2 separate regions of the Homo sapiens genome follow, and region 1 is linked to region 2. The links are contacts of gene promoters, found by promoter capture Hi-C in human tissues and cell types (Jung and others, 2019). All regions are on one chromosome and are shown on one strand. The core of a region is centred on a gene start or on the middle of the fragment in contact, and the rest is flanking DNA. Distances in the headings are between cores, read along the strand shown.

The links. The method cuts DNA at HindIII sites, captures the fragments that hold promoters and counts their contacts. A contact is called where the count stands out against the background at its distance.
Region 1: a contact is called between a fragment that was not itself captured here and the fragment with the promoter of TMEM200C in region 2, in 4 of the 25 tissues and cell types used here (IMR-90 fibroblasts, bladder, neural progenitor cells and 1 more).

What each region holds. Positions count from the first base shown.
Region 1 is chr18:5,936,290-5,941,681 of GRCh38, forward strand. All of the region lies in intron 1 of LOC121725015 (a long non-coding RNA gene), which reads left to right. Among named protein-coding and RNA genes, the nearest start is that of TMEM200C, 43 kb to the left of the region's middle. The HindIII fragment of the contact is 5,747 bases long and covers 762-5,392 here.
Region 2 is chr18:5,893,442-5,898,941 of GRCh38, forward strand. It overlaps TMEM200C (transmembrane protein 200C), which reads right to left and starts at 2,081. Exons shown (of 2, transcript NM_001395400.1): 1 at 1,589-2,081. All of the region lies in intron 9 of MIR3976HG (MIR3976 host gene), which reads left to right. It overlaps LOC121725015 (a long non-coding RNA gene), which reads left to right and starts at 2,286. Exons shown (of 3, transcript NR_172505.1): 1 at 2,286-2,645. The HindIII fragment of the contact is 12,914 bases long and covers 1-5,500 here.

The sequences.
Region 1 (5,392 bases), core at 2,385-4,884, 44 kb after region 2:
GCGTAATTGCAATTAGAAAAGTATTGCTTATCAAAGTTCAATTAAGAAAGTTCGGGAAATACAGAAAAGTGCATAGAAAAAAAAAAAGAAAATGATCCACGATCGCATTACTTACAAGTAAAACCTATTCATATTTTGGCTTGTTCCTTTCCTGTCTTTTCCTATACAGATGTAAAATATTACTAAATTGTCGTATACAACTGTGCATCCTAATATTTTCCCTATTTTGCGACAGATAATATTATACTGGTTACTTACAGCATTTTTCTACATAGATGCATCTCATTCACTTGGATGTTCTTTTTCTGTTTTACATTTATGTTATTACCAGTATGTTTCTATTATAAATGACTTTTAAACATATTTGTACAGAAAACTTTGGTCCATATTTCTAATGACTTTCTTGGACAGATTCTTAGGGCGTGTACATTTTAGAAGTTCATAGTGTATTCCTTTCTTTATCTTAGTGAATGTGGGTTGATGGTAATGCCCAGACTATACAGGGTCCTGGGCCCTGTAGCTAGAGAGGAAAGAGGCAGGACTGCTTGACCTCTGTAGCTCATAGGTCTGCAGGAAACAGAGAAAGTTTAGAAGCACTTACAATAGGGTGTTTCATTTGGGTGCGAGATGTGTGAAGCCCCTGGTGTTGTCAGACAGCACTAGCAGAAGAACTAGAATGCCTGCCCCTGAAACGGGGGGCTCTGATGCTGCTGAAGAAAGGACATCCAGGCTGAGGCCTGAGGAGAGTATGCAGGAGCCGAGGGGAGCAGGAGGAGACAGGGTGCCCGGGCAGTCTGTCCAAAGGGGATGTACAAGGATTTTTGAGAGAAAGTATAGGGGAATTCAAGTTACTGAAAGGAGCACAATAATACTGAATAGTAAGGTGTTAGAGAGAGGAGTTTGCAGAGACAAACTAGGCCATATTATTAGTATCATCTAAGGCAGGGGTCCCCAACCCCCGAGACACAGATCAGTACCAGTTTGTGGCCTATTAGGAACAGGGCCCACAGCAGGAGGTGAGCAGCAGATGAGCGAGCATTGCCGCCTGACCTCTGCCTCCTGTCAGATCAGCAGTGGCATTAGACTCTCACAGATGCGCAAACACTATTGTGAACTGTGCACACAGGGGATCTAGGGCGCATGCTCCTTATGAGAATGTAATGCCTGATGATCTGAGGTGGAATAGTTTCATCCCGAAACTATCTCCCCGCAACCCCTGGTCTGTAGCAAAATTGTCTTCCATGAAACTGGTCCCTTGTGCCAAAATGGTTGGTGACCACTGATCTAAGGCATTTGAGAAACTGGGGGGCAATAAGGAGCCATTGAAATGTTCTCAGTAGGAGTGGGAAGTGATTAACCCTGGGTATTAGATAAAGGTCACTTTGGTGCATATCCAAGAAGGGAGAAGGCTGGAGGCAGGGAGGCTATGTGGGAGGTGGTGAAAGTAATCTAGGTGAGAAACACTGTCATTTCCATAGGAAAATGGCAGCCAGAGTGGAGAGGGGCTGTTCCCAGGCTATTTAGGAAGCAAAATCGATAGGATTCAGTCACATCTGATTTGGGGGAAGTGACTAAGTGAGTTGGAGGGCTCTTGAGCTTGTCCTATGTGTATGACTGGGTGGGTGGTGGCCCCAGGCAGGCAGAGAGGGCACACAGGCACAGGAGATGGCTGGAGGTGTGCAGAGAGCAGGTGCTTGGTGAGTTGAGTTTGTTTCACTTTGAATCTACCACATTTGAAGGGGAAATTCAAGGGGAGGCAGTGAGCTCTTATAGCTACAGGTCTGGAGCTAGGGGGCAGGGGGAACTACAGGATGAAGACAATATGTTGGGAGTCATTGATCTGAACTGAGATGGAGCGAGGAGCAGGCCAGCAACTGTGACCCGGCACCTAACCTAGAAAGGGGGCTAAAAAGCACCAATAAGAGACAATTATGTTCTCAAGACCTTCCCTCAGGGAGAAATGTTCTGGTCTGTCATTTGGGGTGAGGCGGTGAGACCATCAAGGACAGAGAATCAAAAGTCTTCCTCTGGGGAGGGTGTCTGATCAGCTCTAGGGGCATTGGCTTTTCTGGGAAGCTTTGCAAGCTTTGGTCTTGAATACAGGTTGAGCAATTAGTTACAGATTATTTTGTTGGAAGGGTCGCCAAAGGGACAGCCCTCCTGCAGCACCTGCCTCAGATACATCCCACCATACAGGCCACTGAGATGGCCCTATGAGTTGACACAGAGCCAGGGAGGCCAGCAGACACGGACAAAGGCCGGGAAGCTTACAAAGGAGCAGTCAGCCCAGGAGGAGGGCTGCAGTGAGGCCACAGAAGTCCATGGTGTGAAGGTATAAAAGTACAGAGTTGGATATCAGTGACACTGTGGTTGACAAATCACTTCAAATGATAGTGGAAAAGTCTCCATTGGATTTAAGAAGGTGCTCAGTGGTCATTTTTGGTAGCACAGATGCTAGGAAAGGTGGAGGAAGGCGCCATCATGCTAGGTGTTGACTTGTGTTATTGGGGTCAGGAAAGAAAGACAAAGAGTTCAACAAGTCTTTCAAGAAGTGTGTCCTTCTAAGGGCCAGAGGATGGAGTGTGAGTGTGTCTGCCTCCCTGTCCACTGGCCTCATAGCCTTTGCATCATTTGACAAATGTTTCAGCATCAAAATACGGTGTTTTAGCCAAGCACGGTGGCTCACTCCTGGAATCCCAGCACTTTGGGAGGCCGAGGCGGGCTGATTGCCTGAGGTCAGGAGTTCGAGACCAGCCTGGCTAACATGGTGAAACCATGTATTTTGTATTTTGTATTTACTAAAATACAAAAATTAGCCCGGCATGGTGGTGCATGCCTGTAGTCCCAGCTACTCAGGAAACTGAGACAGAAGAATCACTTGAACCTGGGAGACAGAGGTTGCAGTGAGCCGAGGTCGCGCCACTGCACTCTAGCCTTGGTAACAGAGCAAGACTCTGTCTCAAAAAAAAAAAAATATATATATATATATATAATACATATATATTTATATATATTTATACATATATATGGTGTTTTATTATTTGAACCTTTGACATTTATTTGATTACTAGTAATAGTAAATATTTCCTCTTATGGCTATGTGTAATTTTGCTTACGTTATTTATGTCCATTGCCTGATAGTCTGTTAGATTAACCATGATGTTATTAATTTTGAAGACATATTTCTATATCATAACCTCTTTGCAGTTATATTTAAGGCAAACACATTTTCACAGTATTAATTTTATTACTGCTTGTAACATATAGAATTATTTCCTAACTTTATGTTATAAAATCTCTCATTGGATTATAGAGTCTTAATAGAAAAGTGAGCAGCAACAGTTTGAGCCCCTTGGGGAAGAGGAGACTCCCTGGGGGGACAGCACGGCCTCTGCTTGCATCCTAGGTTTTACTGAAGCACTGTTTGCAGAAAGCCTAGCGGGCTCAGAAAACCAGCCATGCCATGGTGGGAAGAAAGCCTTGCTGAGATCCTGTGGCTGAAAACCATCATGGGCTTTTGCTTTCAGACTGCCCATTGCCAACCGATGCAGGCCCAGAGAAGCAAGGAGGAGTGCTGTTCTGGGAAGGCGGTGGGCACATAGATGGAGCTAGACTTGCGACTTCAGGCCCTCAGCAGCCACATGATCTTGCAGCTGTGGGCCATGCACCTGCTTCTTGGGCCCATGATTAACCAGATGTTCAGCTCCTTAAAGACAGACTTCGGGGCCCTTGGCTGGCAGGGGATGCAATCTGCAGATGAGAAGCTCTGAGAAGCAGTTCTCAAAGCCAGGATCCAGAGGCTCAGCCATGTGAGTTTCCTGTGAGAGGGAAAAGGCAGGAGCATAGAGGCCACTGAAGTTGTTCTCAAAAGCCCCAAGATACCTTTGGTCTCAGTGGAGGCATCCAGGACACAGCTGTCTTCACTTCTTCACTCAGTCATTTAGAAATTGTTCAGTGAGCACCCACCCTGTATAATTCACTGCTGCTGCAGCTGAGCTCAACATGGTGTCATCTAGGGGAGGAGCTTGAAGAGGTTGTGTTAAGGAAGAACCACGAGAGGAGTGCCCAGTTGGATGTGACCCCGGATGTGTAGGCATCCAGGAGGCTGAAAGAAGGCTGACCCAGGGCCTGATCACTTGACAATGGACATGCTACCTCACAGAGCATAACACCACAACTAACACATCCTGAGCCCTCAATCAATGTTGTGCAATAAAGGAATAAACCTGGATGTCTTTCCTGTAACCAAACATTGGACTATTCATCAACTGTGCACTTTTTGTTCCCCAACGAGCACAAGGGTTTGGACTGCACCATCCCCACTCTTTCTTGACTCTCTCTGTACACCATAAATGCATGGTTCAGGGTGATTTTGCTGGGCAAGGGTGATGGTTTGACTATTTGTGTCCCTCCAAAATTCATGTTGACACTTAATGCCCATTGTGGTGGTATTAAGAGGTAGAGACTTTCGGGAAGTGAGTAAGTCACGAGGCCTCTTTATAAAAGAAGCTTCAGGCCAGGTGCAGTGGCTTATGCATGTAATCCCAGTACTTTGACAGGCTGAGATGAGAGGATCATTGAGCCTAGGATTTCAAAACTAGCCTGGGCAACATAATGAGACCCTATCTCTATTAAAAGTAAAACATTAGCTGGGCATGGTGCGGTGCACCTGTAGTCTCAGCTACTTTGGAAGCTGAGGCAGGAGGATCACTTGAGCCCAGGAGGTTGAGGCTGCAGTGAGCTATGATTGCACCACCGCACTTCGGCCTAGGCAACAGCGTGAGACCTTGTCACACACACACACACACACACACACACACACAATAGTTTCAGACAATAGCCTGGCCTGGCCTTCCCATCTCTTCTGCTGTGAAAACACAACATGCATCCCTTTTTGCCTCTTCAGCACATGAGGATATAGCAAAAAGGCCCAGGCCCTCAACAGGCACTGAATCTGCTGGTACCTTGATCTTGGACTTCAGAGCCTCCAGAACCATAAGAAATAAATTTCTATTCTTTATAAATTACTGAATCTGTGGCATTTTGTTACAGCAGCACAAACAGACTAGGACAGGGAGGTTGGGAGTGCACCGTGTGATGTGTCTTTGCAAAGTCTACCCTGTACCAAGCTGACTGGCCCTATGGGATTTGTTAGCAACTAGCTGGGCCAGATCATTAGAAAACAATTTGAAATGCAGAATGAGGAATGGTGGCAAATTTGGCTATTTTTCTCAGGGTTTTGTTCAGCACCATTTGCTGCCATGCTACCAGCATAGTGGTTTGTGTGGCCTGTACATCCAGAATACCTGGGTTCAAATCCTGCTCCCTGCCTGTGTGATCTTGAGCAGGTGATATGAGCTGCCTGTGCCAAGTTCCGCATCTGTAAAGTGAG
Region 2 (5,500 bases), core at 831-3,330:
CGGCAGCCTCTAAAAATTACAGTCTTGCTGTATCTCCAGAGTAGAACATTTTCTGTCCCATTAGTTGTTTTCCCTCCTATGAGATGCTAAAATCAAGGACATTGTATGAACTGAAAGACTTAGATATCACGCCCAAGCCTTTTGCTCTTCTATCCTTTATCAGATAATTCATGTTTTAGAATAAATTCCCCCTTGAAAATGTGTGGTAGGTAGAATTTTGCTTTTAATTGGTGATTGGGTGAAAGGCTTTGGCCCTTGAGTTCCTCCATTATATCAATATAGGCAGGATCTTTTCTCCATCAGTGGGAATGTAAATGGTAATCAGCTCTTTGCAATATTTGCAAATCAATATCTCTTTGGGACTTAGCTGGGTTTCAGTAAAGAGAAGCACCAGGTAGATAAGAGAGGGGTCAGTATAGAGAATACATCTATAAACCTTTAAGCTGCACCAGTAAGTACAGATTGAAACAAACAAAAAAAAGAGCTTACTGTCTATCTCTAATCCCAAATAAGTAAGCACATTTATTATGTGGTTGTAACATAGAGACTGTTGTTTTAAGTGATCCTTGGAGTCCAGCATCTTAAATAATCTGGAGATCCGTGGTTATCTTAAGAAGGCTTTAAGGACCAGACATTTTTTAGAAGCGAACTCAGACTCAGTTGGCAGGGTGGCTCTCCCACCGCAGAAAGGCTACATGTTTTGTTGGGCATTGATCAGGTGCGCCGGGAGGCTGGATGCCTTGGGGGAGGAGGAAACCCACTTGGATTTCTCCTCAGCAAGGCAGCTTTGGCTCCGGTAGAATGTAAGGAAGGTTGGAATGGATTTCAACAGTCCTTTACCGCACATCTTTAAAATGAGTTTAATAGCTAGTAATTAACTCCCTCGTTTATTATTCCTTCAGCTCTGTTGAAGGCTGTACTCCCTTTTAATGTATCATCATCTGACACGAAATACAGACAAAGGTCAGATGCCACGGGAGACCCACCTTTGAGGTTTTCCTTTATACCTAATGAAAGAAAACAAACTTAGCAGTCAAGCTTGGCTGCCCTCGCAATTTACTGCCTGGAGCTGGTCTTACCGTGGTTAAAGAATGGAGGATGGGGGAAGCAAAGGAGGGATGTCTAAAAATACAACTGCTTCCAAGAGAGACATTCAAGTTCTCCGCTCAAGATGGATTAAGCCCCACTCTGAGGCTCGGAGGCTCGGATCCCACAGGCTGGGAGCGCTGTGCTGTGCCCGGTACCCAACCCAGGTCCTCGACCCCGGCCCCTCACTGGCAGGGCGGCGACCCCCTGGCCCCTGGCTTTGGTCTGCTTATTGATGTTAGCTGGAGTCACATGAGTGCAGCAGCTGGGAGTCCGCCTCTGGAAAGAAGACAGGCAGGAGCCAAGTGAGGGCAATCCTGAACTAGCTTTTTCTGGGCAGCGCATCCCGTGTAGCCAGCCCGGGAAAAAGCCTCTCACCGAACACCAGCCCGGGGCGCGGGGACTCGGGGACCCGAGGGGCGGGGAGGGGCCCCCAAGGGCTGGGGACTGGCAGAATTGCTCAAAATGGCAGCACTCTCCGCACGCAAGATCGCTCACTTACCCAGGGAGACCGAGGGAGGTCGGGGCCGGCGAACGGGCGCTCGGGCGACACAAAGGAACCATGGAGAAACTTTTTCAGCCCGAGCCGACGGCGGAGCGCAGGGACAGCGCCCCGGGGCCCCGCATCCGAGCGCGACTCAGCAGCCCCGCGGGGGCGAGCGCCCGCCCCAGGCTCGCAGTCCCCGCCGGCGCTGTGGCGGGAGCCATTTCCAAGAGTTTCCAAGAAGTGTCAGGTCCTCCGCATCCCGCATCCCGCATCCCGCCTCGGAGCCCTCCTCTCCGCCGCTCATCCTCCAGCTCCCGGCGTCCCCTAGCGCGGCGCTCCCGGGCGGGCCCCTGCGGCCGCGCCGCCGGCCCTCGCGCCTCTTTTGTGTGGCTGCGGCGCGCCGGGCTCCGCCGGGTGGAGTTGAGCCCGCGGCGGCGGCTCGGGGCGGCCGGACTGGCGGCTGTTGCTAAGAGACCGGAGCCATGACACAGGGAAATTGCGGCAGGGTGGCGGTCGGGGCCCGCCCGGCTCGGCGGAGTCGGGGGGCGCCCCCGCCCCCGCCCCCCGCCCCACCCCCTCCTCCGGCGCCCCCCCCCACGCCGCCGGCCTTCCCCGCTCCCCCGCGTCCTCCGCCGCCCGCCGCCCGTCCCTTCGGAAGCGCCGATTCCTCGGGGAGGAGGAGGCGTGAGGGGAGGCGGCGGAGGCAGCCGGCACGGGGCGCTCGGGCCGCGGGGCAGGGGGCGCGGGGTGCCTCCTCGGCCTCGGCTCTCCCCGCCCCGGGGCGCCCCGAGACCGCCGCCTGCCTCCGCGGGCAGCTTTGTTCTTCTTTCCTCCAACTACCTGTCTGAGCCGCGGGCCCCAGAGGCCCCAAAGAGAGGCCCGGAGGGTCTCCCCAGCAGCATCCGAGGGGCGCTCTCGGGGAGCTAGGGGCCAGAGTCCGCGGTCCCTCCGTGCCTGCCTCCCTCCCCTCGTGCCTCGGTCTTTTGTTGCCTCTACTCCTCGGCACGGCGCAGCCTGGGCTCTCTTCCCCCTCCCGCTTGGGAGTTTGCAGTGTGGACGCTCGGCAAGCACAGTAAGTTGTCCCCCAGCGAACTCGGGCCCGGGCGGAGTGGAGCCGCCCCCGCCGGGACGGGCGCACCGCGGGACGCTTGGAAGCCTCTGCCAGATGCGCTCGCGCTCCAGCCCCGCCGGGCTTTGTGACCAGCCTGACCGGGACCCGGCAGCTGGGGCTCCTCGGAGATCAGAATGGGCTCCGGGGCTCTTCCTTGGGCAGCCCCTCCTGCTCCTCCCCGGTGCGGTAATCAGCAAGCATTAAAAGGAAAACTATAATTCTCCAGGAATCAGGAATCAGGGTTGGAATCAGAGAGGGGAGGTGGGGGTAGGGAGGATGTCCAAACTCCCTACGTCATTTAAAAAAGAGAGAAGGCGAGAGAGAGAGAGAAAGAGATCGAGATCCTGTTTCCTAGTTCATCCCTGTCTTCTCAACTGTAAAGTAAAAATGACAGGGAAAAGAGAATTTCAAAGTGGAATTTCCCCAAAGAGTATTGAGAAAGTGAGAAAGATTTCATTTATCTATTGAAATGAGGCAGCCAGGATTCAGGAAGAAAGGAACAGAAGAGCAGATGAAGCAAGTGCTGTCTGAAATTTTGGATCCAGATAAATATTTTGGTGGTGGTGGGTGTTATATATTCTGAGTTTTGCTGCTTAGGGGTCCACAAAACCCACACAGGAGGGCTCTGCTGCCCGCAGCTCCTGTTACAAGATTGTTCCCCACATACACAGCATTCACTTGTGCTTAAATCTAGAGCAGACACTTTTCAAAAAGAACAATAAAGACAACCAATTTACAAGTTCAATGATATAAATGTGAACAGTGATCTAAGAGATGGGGATAGAGACGGTGGGGGACAGGAGGGAACGAAGCAGAAGTGTTTTCTAAAAGGCAACCCTGCATTCACCTGTTGGAAAGGTGGCCTCTGTCACCCTTTTCAAGCAAATAACGAATCTGAATGATGATCAGGGTGTCCGGAACCCACCGCCTTCCCCCTACCTATTCATGCTCAGATTCAGGCTATTAGAAAACAAACCATAATGAAGGGAAAGTTTTAAATCCCACATTGGGTTGTTTCCTTTTAGAGAAATCACTGCAAAGGAAAAATAATAAGATCTAGTTGTCGTTTTCTAAAGCCTTTTTGGCTCTGAACTTCCAGATCTCCTGAATCCCAATAATAATCTGGTATTTTTTACAAAGATTGGGCCTACAGTCTCATTTCATTGCACAGCTAGCTGCCAGAGTCTATGGGCGGCAGTTCCTGTGCTCTGTTTGCTGGGCTGTACAAACAGGAATAATACTGCAGAACTTCATTAGGATTTTAGGTGGATTAAACTGCTAATAGTTTCAAGTTTCTGTGTAAATTATAGCCATCATTTGCACATTTAAAACTCATTTGAGGGATTTGGAGAAGAAAAGAATTCTTTTCTAGACAAAGGGCCTTGGGACATAGCTAGTTTTGTCTTATGTTGATGATTGCAACAAAATTTATGGCTTATTACTCAAAGGCTTCCTTCCAAACTGCGCTTTTTGGAACTTTGAACTGTTTAACCTGAATGTTATCACGTTCAGTAGTTTTCTTTGTTTTCAGCTCATGGTATCAGAGGAAATCAAGCAGATCACATCTGTTTCCAGCGGAGTCCGTTATCCCCTCTGTAATACAGAATCAACATACATTCCCAGGGGCTTTCAAGTTATTAGAGTTATTTTTAAAGGAACAAGGATACTCTTGGCCCTTCTGGCGTTATTTTCCTTCTAATCTCCCTGGCCATTTCAGTTTGGATGATTTCCGAGACTGTGGGACCCCACTTTCACCGTGCTAAGGACTGAAAGGCTACAACTACCTAGTCTTAATAATTCACTAGTGTCTCCAGATTTTGGAGCTCAGCACAGCCTTCTGACCTTGTAGCAGGGAACATAATGAAGGCCCTGGGAAAGTAAGAGAAGAGGATGAAGATTAGCTTAGTTTAGTTGGATTAAATTCTGACCTGCAACCTTTCATTTGCTCTATCTTAAAAAAAAATCCTTATATAATTTATTCAGTCTCATAATTTATTCACAACTCATTTACTTCCTGGATCATTTCACCAACCTAGCCTGGTGTGCTTGACTCGCCTGCCTGTGCTCCCAGGGCTGCGTAGGGGAAGACAGCGTCATGGGCACACACAGGACCTTCTTGGTCTCCAGGAGTGTGCCAGAGAAGGGAAGTCTGCTTATACCAACAGCTCAGCACCTCCTGCCTCTGCACACACCTTTCTCTCACAGATAGTGCAGGCTGCAGAAATAAGTAGTTTAGTGTTGTGAGTTCTGGAGCCAGTTTATCTCCTCCACTAACTAAATTACTTAATCTTGTCTGCCTCAATTTCCCCATCTGTAATGGGGATAATGACACTGATACCTTATTCATAGCATTGTAGTAAAGATTAAAAGAGTGTAGTCAGTGTAGGCTAATGCTTAGCACGTAGTAAGCACTCATTAAACTTAGCTATCACCTTATTGGTCCTAACATCTCCCAGCTTGATACCCTCACTCTCCTGTTCCATTCATATTTTCTGGGATCCACATGGAACTGTATCTGTACTTATTATCTCTGAAGTAGGCTTACAGGATCAGCTGCTGTGATTGAACTACCCCTACCCAGATGACATAGGTCCAATGCCACTCCAGAAAGCTTGCTCCATATGAGAATGAAAACACTTTTCTCCATTGCAACTTTGCTCATTTTGCAATTAACCGGGACCCTTTAATTTCAATTTGCTCAATAACTCAGATTTCAAACTCATGACACACTGTAGTCAAATTAGAAATTTGCAAAAACACAACCAAGAGACATTCTTCAGACCAGAAGTTGGAAGATTTCATAGAAAGGACCTTCA